2 separate regions of the Homo sapiens genome follow, and region 1 is linked to region 2. The links are contacts of gene promoters, found by promoter capture Hi-C in blood cells and fetal thymus (Javierre and others, 2016). All regions are on one chromosome and are shown on one strand. Each heading gives the region's core, a stretch centred on a gene start or on the middle of the fragment in contact. The rest is flanking DNA. Distances are from core to core; before and after follow the strand shown. Region 1 has its middle 5.6 kb from the start of GINS4. Region 2 holds the start of SFRP1 (secreted frizzled related protein 1).

What was found. The method cuts DNA at HindIII sites, captures the fragments that hold promoters and counts their contacts. A CHiCAGO score of 5 or more calls a contact.
Region 1: a contact is called between a fragment that was not itself captured here and the fragment with the promoter of SFRP1 in region 2, in 1 of 17 cell types (endothelial precursors). The highest score is 5.3, in endothelial precursors.

The regions. Positions count from the first base shown.
Region 1 is chr8:41,521,091-41,526,235 of GRCh38, reverse strand. No RefSeq gene overlaps it. Among named protein-coding and RNA genes, the nearest start is that of GINS4, 5.6 kb to the left of the region's middle. The HindIII fragment of the contact is 1,945 bases long and covers 1,046-2,990 here.
Region 2 is chr8:41,305,491-41,311,025 of GRCh38, reverse strand. It overlaps SFRP1 (secreted frizzled related protein 1), which reads left to right and starts at 1,553. Exons shown (of 3, transcript NM_003012.5): 1 at 1,553-2,410. The coding sequence starts at 1,867. RefSeq lists enhancers at 1,833-2,603, 2,604-3,375. The HindIII fragment of the contact is 12,075 bases long and covers 1-5,535 here.

The sequences.
Region 1 (5,145 bases), core at 769-3,268, 210 kb before region 2:
CAATGGTGCGATCTTGGTGCACTGCAACCTCTGCCTCCTGGGTTCAAGTGCTTCTCCTGCCTCAGCCTCCTGAGTAGCTGGGATTATAGGCATGTGCCACCGCGCTTGGCTAATTTTTGTATTTTTAGTAGAGACGGGGTTTCACCATGTTGGCCAGGCTGATCTTGAACTCTTGACCTCAAGTGATCTGCCCGCCTCGGCCTCCCAAAGTGCTAGGATTACAGGAGGGGGCCACCACACCTGGCCATCAGTCACACCACCTTTTTTTTTTTTTTTTTTTTTTTTTTTTTTTGTGAGATGGAGTCTCACTCTATCACCCAGGCTGAAGTGCAATGGTGTGATCGCAGCTCACTGCAACCTCTGCCTTCCAGGTTCAAACGATTCTCCCACCTCAGCCTCCCGAGTAGCTGGGACTACAGGTGCACGCCATCGCGCCTGGCTAATTTTTGTATTTTAGTAGAGATGGGGTTTTGCTATGGTTGCCAGGCTAGTCTCGAACTCCTGACCTCAAGTGATCCACCTGTCTCAGCCTCCCAAATTGCTGGGATTACAGGAGTGATCCAACCGCGCCTGGCTAATCACACCACCTTTTACACAAAATTAATATGTGTCTGCCTGAAGACAGAGGGACAGACCAAAAAATTGAGGGACCCGTTTCACTTCTAAGATCTTTGATTACAACTAATATTCATTAGACAAAAACACTTTTAGAGGAAATGAGTTGGCAGAAAAATATTTCTGCTGTGTAAAGAAGGGTTATTAAAAGAAATGCCAAAGCAACACACAAACTTTTGGTGTTGATCGTTTGGCACTGTAAAGTTCAGGAAGGTGGGAGAAAAGAGGTCTTCAATTACATTATATAGAATGAAGAGAAAAATCAGGAACACCTGGTTGATGTGCACCCACTGTCAAGAAGTGTTTTAGAAATAATAAGATAGCCATATAAATGGAATGCAATTCATTAAAATGATCACAGATAAAAGGTGATTACATAGATTATTATATTAGGAGGATGAAGTTTGTGGATAGAATTTGCAGGCAAGCTTAGATGATTTAAATTGCAAGATGAACATACTAACATGAATTCAGACAAGTAAAACATGAAGTTACCTCGAAAGAGAAGGAAAAAGCTACTGCCCAAAGTGGAAGAGGAAGATACAGAAAATAGGATCCTATACAACTGAAGAAAGTGACAAGCCACAGCAATATTCAGATATTCTCAGTGAAGATGTTAATGGAAATTATAGACACAGCAAATAGAAACAGCCAAAATATTTGTGGACAGCCATACGTTATTATTATTATTACTATTTTTTGAGACAGAGTCTCACTCTGTCGCCCAGGCTAGAGTACAGTGGCGTGATCTCGGTTCACTGCCAGCTCCGCCTCCTGGGTTTACGTCATTCTCCTGCCTCAGCCTCCCGAGTAGCTGGGACTACAGGCGCCTGCCACCACGCCCGATAATTTTTTGTATTTTTAGTAGAGACGGGGTTTCACCATGTTAGCCAGGATGGTCTGGATCTCCTGACCTTGTGATCCGCTCGCCTCGGCCTCCCAAAGTGCTGGGATTACAGGCGTGAGCCACTGCACCTGGCCCAGTGGTACATTATTTTTATTTTTTGAGACAGAGTCTCGCTCTGTTGCCCAGGCTGGAGTGCAGTGGCATGATCTTGGTTCACTGCAACCTCTGCCTCCCAGGTTCAAGCGATTCTCTTGCCTTGGCCTCCAGAGTAGCTGAGATTACAGGCATGTGCCTCCATGCCCGGCTAATTTTTGTGTTTTTAGTAGAGATGGGGTTTCCCCATGTTGGACAGGCTGGTCTTGAACTCCTGACCTCAGGTGATCCGCCCACCTCAGTCTTCCAAAGTGCTAGGATTATAGGCATTGCACCTGGCCAAAAAGATACATTATTAATGAGAACAAATTTAATGTTTTAATCACCAAGGAAAAACAACAGTAAATACTGTATATCTATACAGAATTGTGAGCTTTCTGGAGAAAGATGCTTTCAGAATACAAGTAATGGCATTATTATTGTTCTCATATCAGTGCCCTTGCTTGTTTGGTCAGCAGCTGTTTCTCAGGGGTCCCTTTTTCTGAATTCCATCACAATCTTGGTCTCACTGCCCTGGAAACCAAAGAATTAAGATTTGGGAGTGTTTTAGTTAAGTTGAGTTTAACTCCCGGTTTTTCTGAATGCATGAAGATTGGCACTACAGACAGCCATGTAAGAGGACAGCTTGCATTTTTTTTTTTTTTTGAGACGGAGTCTTGCTCTGTTGCCAGGCTGGAGTGCAGTGGCATGATCTCGGCTCACTGCAATCTCCGCCTCCTGGGTTCAAGCGATTCTCGTGCCTCAGCCTCCCGAGTAGCTGGGGCTACAGGGGTGTGCCACCATGCCTGGCTAATTTTTGTATTTTTAGTAGAGACAGGGTTTCACCATGTTGGCCAGGATGGTCTCGATCTCCTGACATGATGATCCACCCGCCTTGGGCTCCCAAAGAGCTTTAAGGAAGGCAGAAAAGTGTGCTTACGCTGTTTTCTCTTAGGCTCATAAGGAAAGCTATTGGCTGGTGAACTTATACGTATTTTTCTGGCCAATGATAACACCCAATGCCAGCTGCATGGCCAGGATGCTGGAGAACTCAGGAAGCCGGGCAAGGCTTGGGTCTCCCTTACAAATGGAAAATCTGGGCAATTTATGATATTCCTAATTCCTTTGCTCTCCTCAGACCCTAGGTCCTCTGAAACTCTGTAAGGAGATATAAGAACTATCTGCCCCTTTGCTTGTTGTAGAATATACAATAATCATAAAAAATTTTTAAAAATTAAATATATCTTATGAAACACTGTGGCCAACATAGCATGTAGCTGGTTGAGTAAGATTATTTTCCTAATGCTTTTCTGAATATGTCAAGCAAAGAGAAAGGTGACCTTTCCATAAAGAAATTCATGTGCCTTTATATCATGGGCATCTTTGATGAGAAGCTTATGTGCCCAAGTGTTGGGCAAGTCTTATTTATTTATTTATTTATTTGTGATGGAGCCTCACTCTGTTGCCCATGTTGGACTGCAGTGGCATGATCTCGGCTCACTGCAACCTCTGTCGCCCGGGTTCAAGTGATTCTCCTGCCTCAGCCTCCTGAGTAGCTGGGATTACAGGTGCCTGCCACTGCGCCCCGCTAACTTGTATATTTTTAGTAGAGACGGGGTTTCTTGGTCAGGCTGGACTTGAACTCCTGACCTTGTGATCCACCTGCCTCAGCCTCCTAAAGTGCTGGGATTACAGGCATGAGCCACTGTGCCCAGCCTAAGGCTTCATATTTATTAAAGTCTATATAGTTTAGCTGAGAGATCTTGAGGGACTTGTCCTAAGGTCTAAATAAAAGCCAGGCCAAATTCAATCTCTCTTTCTCTCTGGCTGGAGTGCAGTGGGACAGTCATGGCTCACTGCAGCCTCAAACTCCTGGGCTCAAGCAATCCTCCCACCTTGGCCTCCCAAGTAGCTGGGACCACAGGTGTGTACCACCGTGCCTGGCTAATTTTTTTTTTTTTTTTTGTGGAGACGGGGGTCTCACTATGTTGCCCAGGCTGGTCTTGAAGTCCTGGCCTCAAGCGATCCTCCTGCCTCAGCCTCCTAAAGTGTTTGGGGTTACAGACATGAACCTCTGCACCCGGCCCAAACTCAGTATTTCTAAATGCTTGCACCTTAGGGCAATGCGTGCTCTCTCTCTCTCTCTTTTCCTATAGTGATGGGAAAAGGTCTGATTATAGTCAAAGTAAAGGGTAAAAGGTAGCCTTGTTCAAGAATGTGCCCCGTATCAAAATTTCATTTATTGTCTTGAATTTTAATGTCTTTCTTTTCTTTGTGTTAATGAATCATAGACATGGGCACCATTTTGATAACTTTTTAAATTAATTTATTTTATTTTTCGAGATAAGGTCTTGCTCTGTCACTCAGGCTGGAGGGCAGTGGTGTGATCTTGGCTCACTGCAGCCTCCACCTCTTGGGTTCAAGCGATTCTTGTGTCTCAGCCTCCCCTATAGCTGGGATTACAGGTGTGTGCCACCATGCCTGGGTAATTTTTGTATTTTTAGTAGAGACAGAGTTTTGCCATGTTGGCCAGGTTGGTCTTGAACTCCTGACACCAAGTGATCTGCTCCCCTCAGCCTCCAAAAGTGCTGGGATTACAGGCATGAACCACTGTACCCGGCCCGTTTTGTGAAATTTAGGCTAACAGTTATTGAAATAATTGTTTTCTGTGGGAGAACTCTTAGAATAAAATTCATTCATCTATATATGTTGACCCTTGAACAACTTGGATTTGAACCGCTGGGATTCACTTATGTTGGGTTTTTTTTCAAGTAAGTTACACCAGTGTGCTTGCCTCCTTTTCCACCTCCTCCACCTCATCTGCCTCTGCCACCCATGAGACAGCAAGACCAACCCCTCCTTCCTTCTTTTTACAATTTTTATTTATTTTTTATTAGTTTTTGTACAGATGAGGTCTCCCTAGGTTGCCCACGTTGGTCTCAGACTCCTGGTCTCAAGCAATCCTCCCGCCCAGGCCCTGCAAATTGCTGGGATTACAAGCGTGAGCCACCGCGCTCGGCCCCCTCATTCCTTCTTATGAAGACCTTTATGATGCTCCACTTCCACTTCATGAATAGTAAATATATTTTCTCTACCTTAGATTCTTAGTAACATACTCATTTCTCTAGCTTACTTTATTGTAAGAATACAGTATGTAACACATATAACGTTAAAATGTGTTAATTGACTGTTTATGCTATGGGTAAGGGTTCCAGTCAACAGTAGGCTATTAGTAGTTAAGTTTTTGGGGAGTCAAAATTTGTACGTGGCTGGGTGCAGTGGCCCACACCTGTAATTCCAGCACTTTGGGAGGCTGAGGCAGGCGGATCACTTGAGGTCAGGAGTTTCAGACCAGCCTGGCCAACATGGTGAAACCCTGTCACTACTAAAAATACAAAAATTAGCTGGGTGTGGTGGCACGTACTTGTAATCCCAGCTACTCAGGAGGCTGAGGTGGGAGGATCGCTTGAACCCGGGAGGCAGAGGTCGCAATGAGTCGTGCCACTGCACTTTAACCTGGGATACAGGGGGAGACTCCACCTCAAGAAAAA
Region 2 (5,535 bases), core at 304-2,803:
CCCTAGAGCTTTACAAACAAGCTGGCGGGCAAGGCAGCGCGCCCTATAGTGTCTCTGTGGAGCGCTAAGATCTGTGACCCCTTTGCCACATGGGGTGTGCGCTCAGACTGGGCTATGAATATATCAGCCTCTCTCCACCCGCACTTAGGGACAGAAGATATGGAGACTCCAGGAACTTCATGAACTATTTGCTGTGGTCTTCTGTCCCGGGATAGTCCGGGTCTCACTCCCAGCTCTCCAGAGCTTAACCCTCCCTCTCAGGGGAATGTTTGAAACCTACGAAGAATTCTCAGGAATTCGAGGTAGAAGGTGGCAGAGAGACTTCTGTTCCTGGGGGCCGAGCTGTTGTGCTGATACCGTCCTCTTGGCGTCTGCCCTAGTGGGGACCCTTGATTTTAACTTGAAGTTCCTGGACTGGGTCTAACCTTAGCATGTGTGCCTGAGTGATGGACTTGGTATTTACACCAGCCACGCTGATAAGTGCACATGTGTTTTTAATGTTTTGGCTTTCCACACCACAAACACACAGATGTGCTGTCGCCCGGGCTAGGACTTGAGTAGGGTTTTTCTATTTAAATATATATTATATATTTAAAAAAGTGTCCTCCCAGAGCTAATACCGTTGCTAGCAGCTCTTCCTGCCGCCACACCGGGCAAAGTCCACCCACTGCCCCAGTGTTGAGGGCCACCATGGGCGGCCCCACCTGGAGAGGTGCTGCTCACAGCAAACAGCTCCAACTGCGCCTTCGCCTCGCCTTCCAGGGAGCCCAGCCAGGCCCACTGGGTATTTACAAGCAGACCTCCCTCGCTTCAGCCTTCCTGAACCCCTGTTAGTTGGGAAACCACCTGTCTGCACCGCAGCTAGAGAACCGAGGAGAGGAGCCGCTAGTCTAAAGGGCTGTTGGTTGAAATTAGGAAGCAGTGTAAAGAAAAAGAAAAAAAAAGTTTGGGAGGCCAAGGCAGGAGCATCACCTGAGGTCAGGAGTTCGAGACCAGCCTGGCTAACATGGTGAAACCCCGTCTCTACTAAAAATACAAAAAATTAGCGGGGGCATGGTGGCACGCGGCTGTAATCCCAGCTACTCGGGAGGCTGAGGCAGGAGAATCGCTTGAACCCGGGAGGCGGAGGTTGCAGTCAGCGGAGATAGCGCCATTGCACTCCAGCTTAGGCAACAAGAGCGAAACTGTCTCAAAAAAAAAAAGTCTTCATAATTTCATGGGTTTGCAAGTATGATCCAGGCTCCCCGCTTCTCTGCAAGCCAATGCGAGTTAATTACAGCGTCCGCCCTGGTCTCTCTCCACCCCACGCCGTGATCCATTCCCCTTCTTTTTCTCCCCTTGTCTCTTTCCTCCTCCCCCTTTTATTTATGTATTTTTGGTTTTGTTTTTTAAGGGGTGTTGAGCCGCGTCTGGTTCTAGTAAACCGAACCCGCTCGCGAGGGAGGCGATTGGCTCCCGCGCCGGTGACGGACGTGGTAACGAGTGCGGCTCGCCCCGCCGGGAGCTGATTGGCTGCGCGGGGCGGCTCCGAGGGCTCGGCCGTAGGAGCCCCGCGCACTCCAGCCCTGCAGCCTCCGGAGTCAGTGCCGCGCGCCCGCCGCCCCGCGCCTTCCTGCTCGCCGCACCTCCGGGAGCCGGGGCGCACCCAGCCCGCAGCGCCGCCTCCCCGCCCGCGCCGCCTCCGACCGCAGGCCGAGGGCCGCCACTGGCCGGGGGGACCGGGCAGCAGCTTGCGGCCGCGGAGCCGGGCAACGCTGGGGACTGCGCCTTTTGTCCCCGGAGGTCCCTGGAAGTTTGCGGCAGGACGCGCGCGGGGAGGCGGCGGAGGCAGCCCCGACGTCGCGGAGAACAGGGCGCAGAGCCGGCATGGGCATCGGGCGCAGCGAGGGGGGCCGCCGCGGGGCAGCCCTGGGCGTGCTGCTGGCGCTGGGCGCGGCGCTTCTGGCCGTGGGCTCGGCCAGCGAGTACGACTACGTGAGCTTCCAGTCGGACATCGGCCCGTACCAGAGCGGGCGCTTCTACACCAAGCCACCTCAGTGCGTGGACATCCCCGCGGACCTGCGGCTGTGCCACAACGTGGGCTACAAGAAGATGGTGCTGCCCAACCTGCTGGAGCACGAGACCATGGCGGAGGTGAAGCAGCAGGCCAGCAGCTGGGTGCCCCTGCTCAACAAGAACTGCCACGCCGGCACCCAGGTCTTCCTCTGCTCGCTCTTCGCGCCCGTCTGCCTGGACCGGCCCATCTACCCGTGTCGCTGGCTCTGCGAGGCCGTGCGCGACTCGTGCGAGCCGGTCATGCAGTTCTTCGGCTTCTACTGGCCCGAGATGCTTAAGTGTGACAAGTTCCCCGAGGGGGACGTCTGCATCGCCATGACGCCGCCCAATGCCACCGAAGCCTCCAAGCCCCAAGGTAAGGCTGCCTCCTCCCACGTGCGCGAGCCGCCCCCTCCATCCCCCGGCCGGAGCTGCAGGAGAACCCGCGCCACCCTACGCCCGCCCGCCGCTGGGTCCCGGTGCTGGGGACTGAGGGCCCGAGGTTGCTCGCATGCTGTGCACGTGATTCCTAAGCGCGTCTGGTCTGTCCCAGGTATCGCTCAGCGCCCCTCGCGACCCAGGTGCACGGCGGGGCTGGCCCGGGAGCGGCAGCTCTGCGCCTTGGCCTCGCAGGGACTCGCTGTGGTCCCCGGAGCCGCTCTTCCTGGGATCCAACTTCGCCTTTCCCATACCTGAAACAAAGCCTTGCGCTTTAAATAACAGGGGAGCTTCCCTCTCCTCTAGGAGGACTCCGAGTCCCTATCGAAGTTTTTAACCTCTGAGACGGGAGGAAAAAACAAAAACCCAAAGCGTAGAAAGTTCAGAAAGGCCGAGAGAATGCTTGGAGCAGCTTTTGTTTATTTTCATAGGTTCGACAAAGATTTAAAAAATAAAACCAAGCCCTTTCCTTCACTGGTCATTCAGTCAAGTAGCCTTGGGATTGCTGCAAAACTGGCTGAGAAAGTTTAGGAACCGTGGGGACTTCTGTTTCTCCACCCCTTCCAGGTACCAGCTCTGCCCTCGGAGGGCTGGGGGTGGAAAGTCTTTTCTCCCTCCCTCTAGCGTACCCCCTGCTTTTCTCATTTACACAAATCCTCAGCTCATTAGAAAGATAAAAATGTAATTAGCTCATTGTTCATCTCCTCCCGGGGAGAGCAGCTCTGCAAAATGCAGACTTTCCTAACAGCCTGAGGGACCGGCCCGAGGTTCCTCTCAAAACCCCCTTATGTTTAAAGAGCAATTCTTGAGGGGGAAGAAAAAAAAATCCTGGGAAGTCAAATAAAATGAAATAGATATAAAGATAAAATATACACATCACAGACCTGACTTCTATAGAAGTAAATTCAACCCAGAATTCTTTAGAAGCGAAGTTTAGGCTCTGAGGTGTGGAGAGGGTCAGGGATTGGGGAGCTGTACCCCAGCTGCGCTTAGCACAGACGCAGGCTTCCTGAGGGCTTTTTGAGGAGGGCCTTTAGGGTGGGGGAGAAAGACTGCCTACACTTAGCTCACCTTAAAGTGTCTTTAACCTCTGTTATTGATGCTAAAAGAGGGGAGTGCAGTCACCTGGCTCCTCAGAGTGAGGATTTGGGCAGGTGGGGGAAAGGGATACCCCAAATTTTAGATGCTTTTGCTTATTCTAGGGAGGGTGGAGATGGGTCCACAGTGACTGTCGTTGGATGGCTGGATGGGAACGGCACTGATTGCCCGCAGTGGCCAGGTCTGGGCACCGCTGCTCTCAGAGTCAACTCTGGTGTTGGGAGTGGAGTGAGGGTAGCGGATGCATCTGCACTTTGTGAGCGAGAACTGAGCAGTTACCTGGAGCAAACAAAGCGCCTTGTGTTCTGTTGGCTTGCACCCATCCCCTGCAGCCTGCGGGAATTTCCTTCTCCCCTTCCTCAGCCAGCGGGGATTAGCCCAGCCCTGCCCTGTGAGGCTGTGCCCAGCCCTGACCTGGAGTCCATTCCCAATGGCTTCCGATGGTCTCTTTCTGGGACCGTCTGCAGACATGAGTGGACACCTTAGGGGGCTCGGCTGCGGAAAAGGTGCTGCAGTCCACAGGGAACATGGGGGGATTGGACGGGTTGCCTGAAGAAGAGAGGAAAGAATCCCTCACCCCAGCCCCCAAAAGGCTGTGATGGGATGGGGAAACCCCATAATCGCTGTCTTCCGGACACCTTTTGCCCCTTGGCTGCAGTTCCACTGGTCGGCGCCCTTCTCAGCCTGGCTTGGAACCGTCCTCACTCACCTCCACTCCTCCCAGCAGCGCTCAGGTAGTCACCCTCCCAAGACAGGTCTTTGAGGAGCAAAGAGAAAAGTGGGGAGAGGGCCGGTCGGGAGTGGGGCTTGGGACTGGTTTTCCCCTCAGTGGTTTTGGTGGGGGGCTCTGCCCTGAGATGGCACACCACCCTCCCCAGGACTGCAATCCCTGGTGTAAGGGAGCCCCACGTGATTTCCTGCGAGGTCCCTGTGGAGGGGAGGGTGGGGCGTGTGTGTGTGTGTGTGTGTGTGTGTAGGTGTGTAGAGGGCAGGTCAAGACAAACCAGACTACTGATCCTCATAACCTTATGGCTTGTGGCTGTGGGGTCGTAACTGGCACTTTCCAATGAGAATAAGTATGCATGCACTACTCTTTTATTCGTTTATTCTTTATGCTTTTATTCTTTAAAATTAAAATGCATTTTCAAAGCAGTGTCATATCTTTGCATACTGGTTTCTGTTCACACACTTGGGCAAATTCAGTTTTGGATTATTGGCCAGCTGTCTGTGGTCATGTGTTATTAAGGAGAAACCTGATAATGAGAAATGACTTGACATTTTTCCCCTGCAAAGGCTGATACCCAAGCCATAGAAGCTCCTGTTAGGGAAGAGGCAATTGCTCTTTTTCTAGGGAAGTCATTTTTGAATTTGGCACTTCCATTAGAACTGTGAACTCCCAGGCTGATGCATTGTTGTTTCCCTCTCTGCCTGGTTTTACTGGGTGAAGTTGTATGAGCCAGCACATTGGGTTTGATTTTGTTGTTGCTTGGGCATGTTGTGCATTTAGTCAGTGTGGCAGAGGCCACAGAGCCCTCTGTTCCCCAGAAAGCCTTCCTTAGGGCTCCCTTTTGGTCCCCCCAGGAACTGGCCAGGGAAGATTGTGGGGGTTGTGTGTGAGAAAGGGAAAGAGAGAAGAAAGAGAGAGAGACTGAGAAAGCACTTGTGTGTGTGTGGATTGATGTATCACAAAAATCACTTAATCCTGATTCAGCTGTTGGGCTGTCTCCTCCACACACCCTTAAATATTAATAAACACAAAACCTTTGCTTTTTTTGTTCATTTGCTTTAAACATTATTTTAAATACAACTGAAAACAGCGATTTAGTTCCACCTCTCAGAAGGATGACTGGGTGGATTTCTCCTGCAGAGGCAGCCTGTAGAGCCCCAAGACGCACCAATGAGGCGCAGGTTAATACCGCATCACACATTTCTCTTTCTCTCTCTGGATCAGGCTGCTCCAGAGTC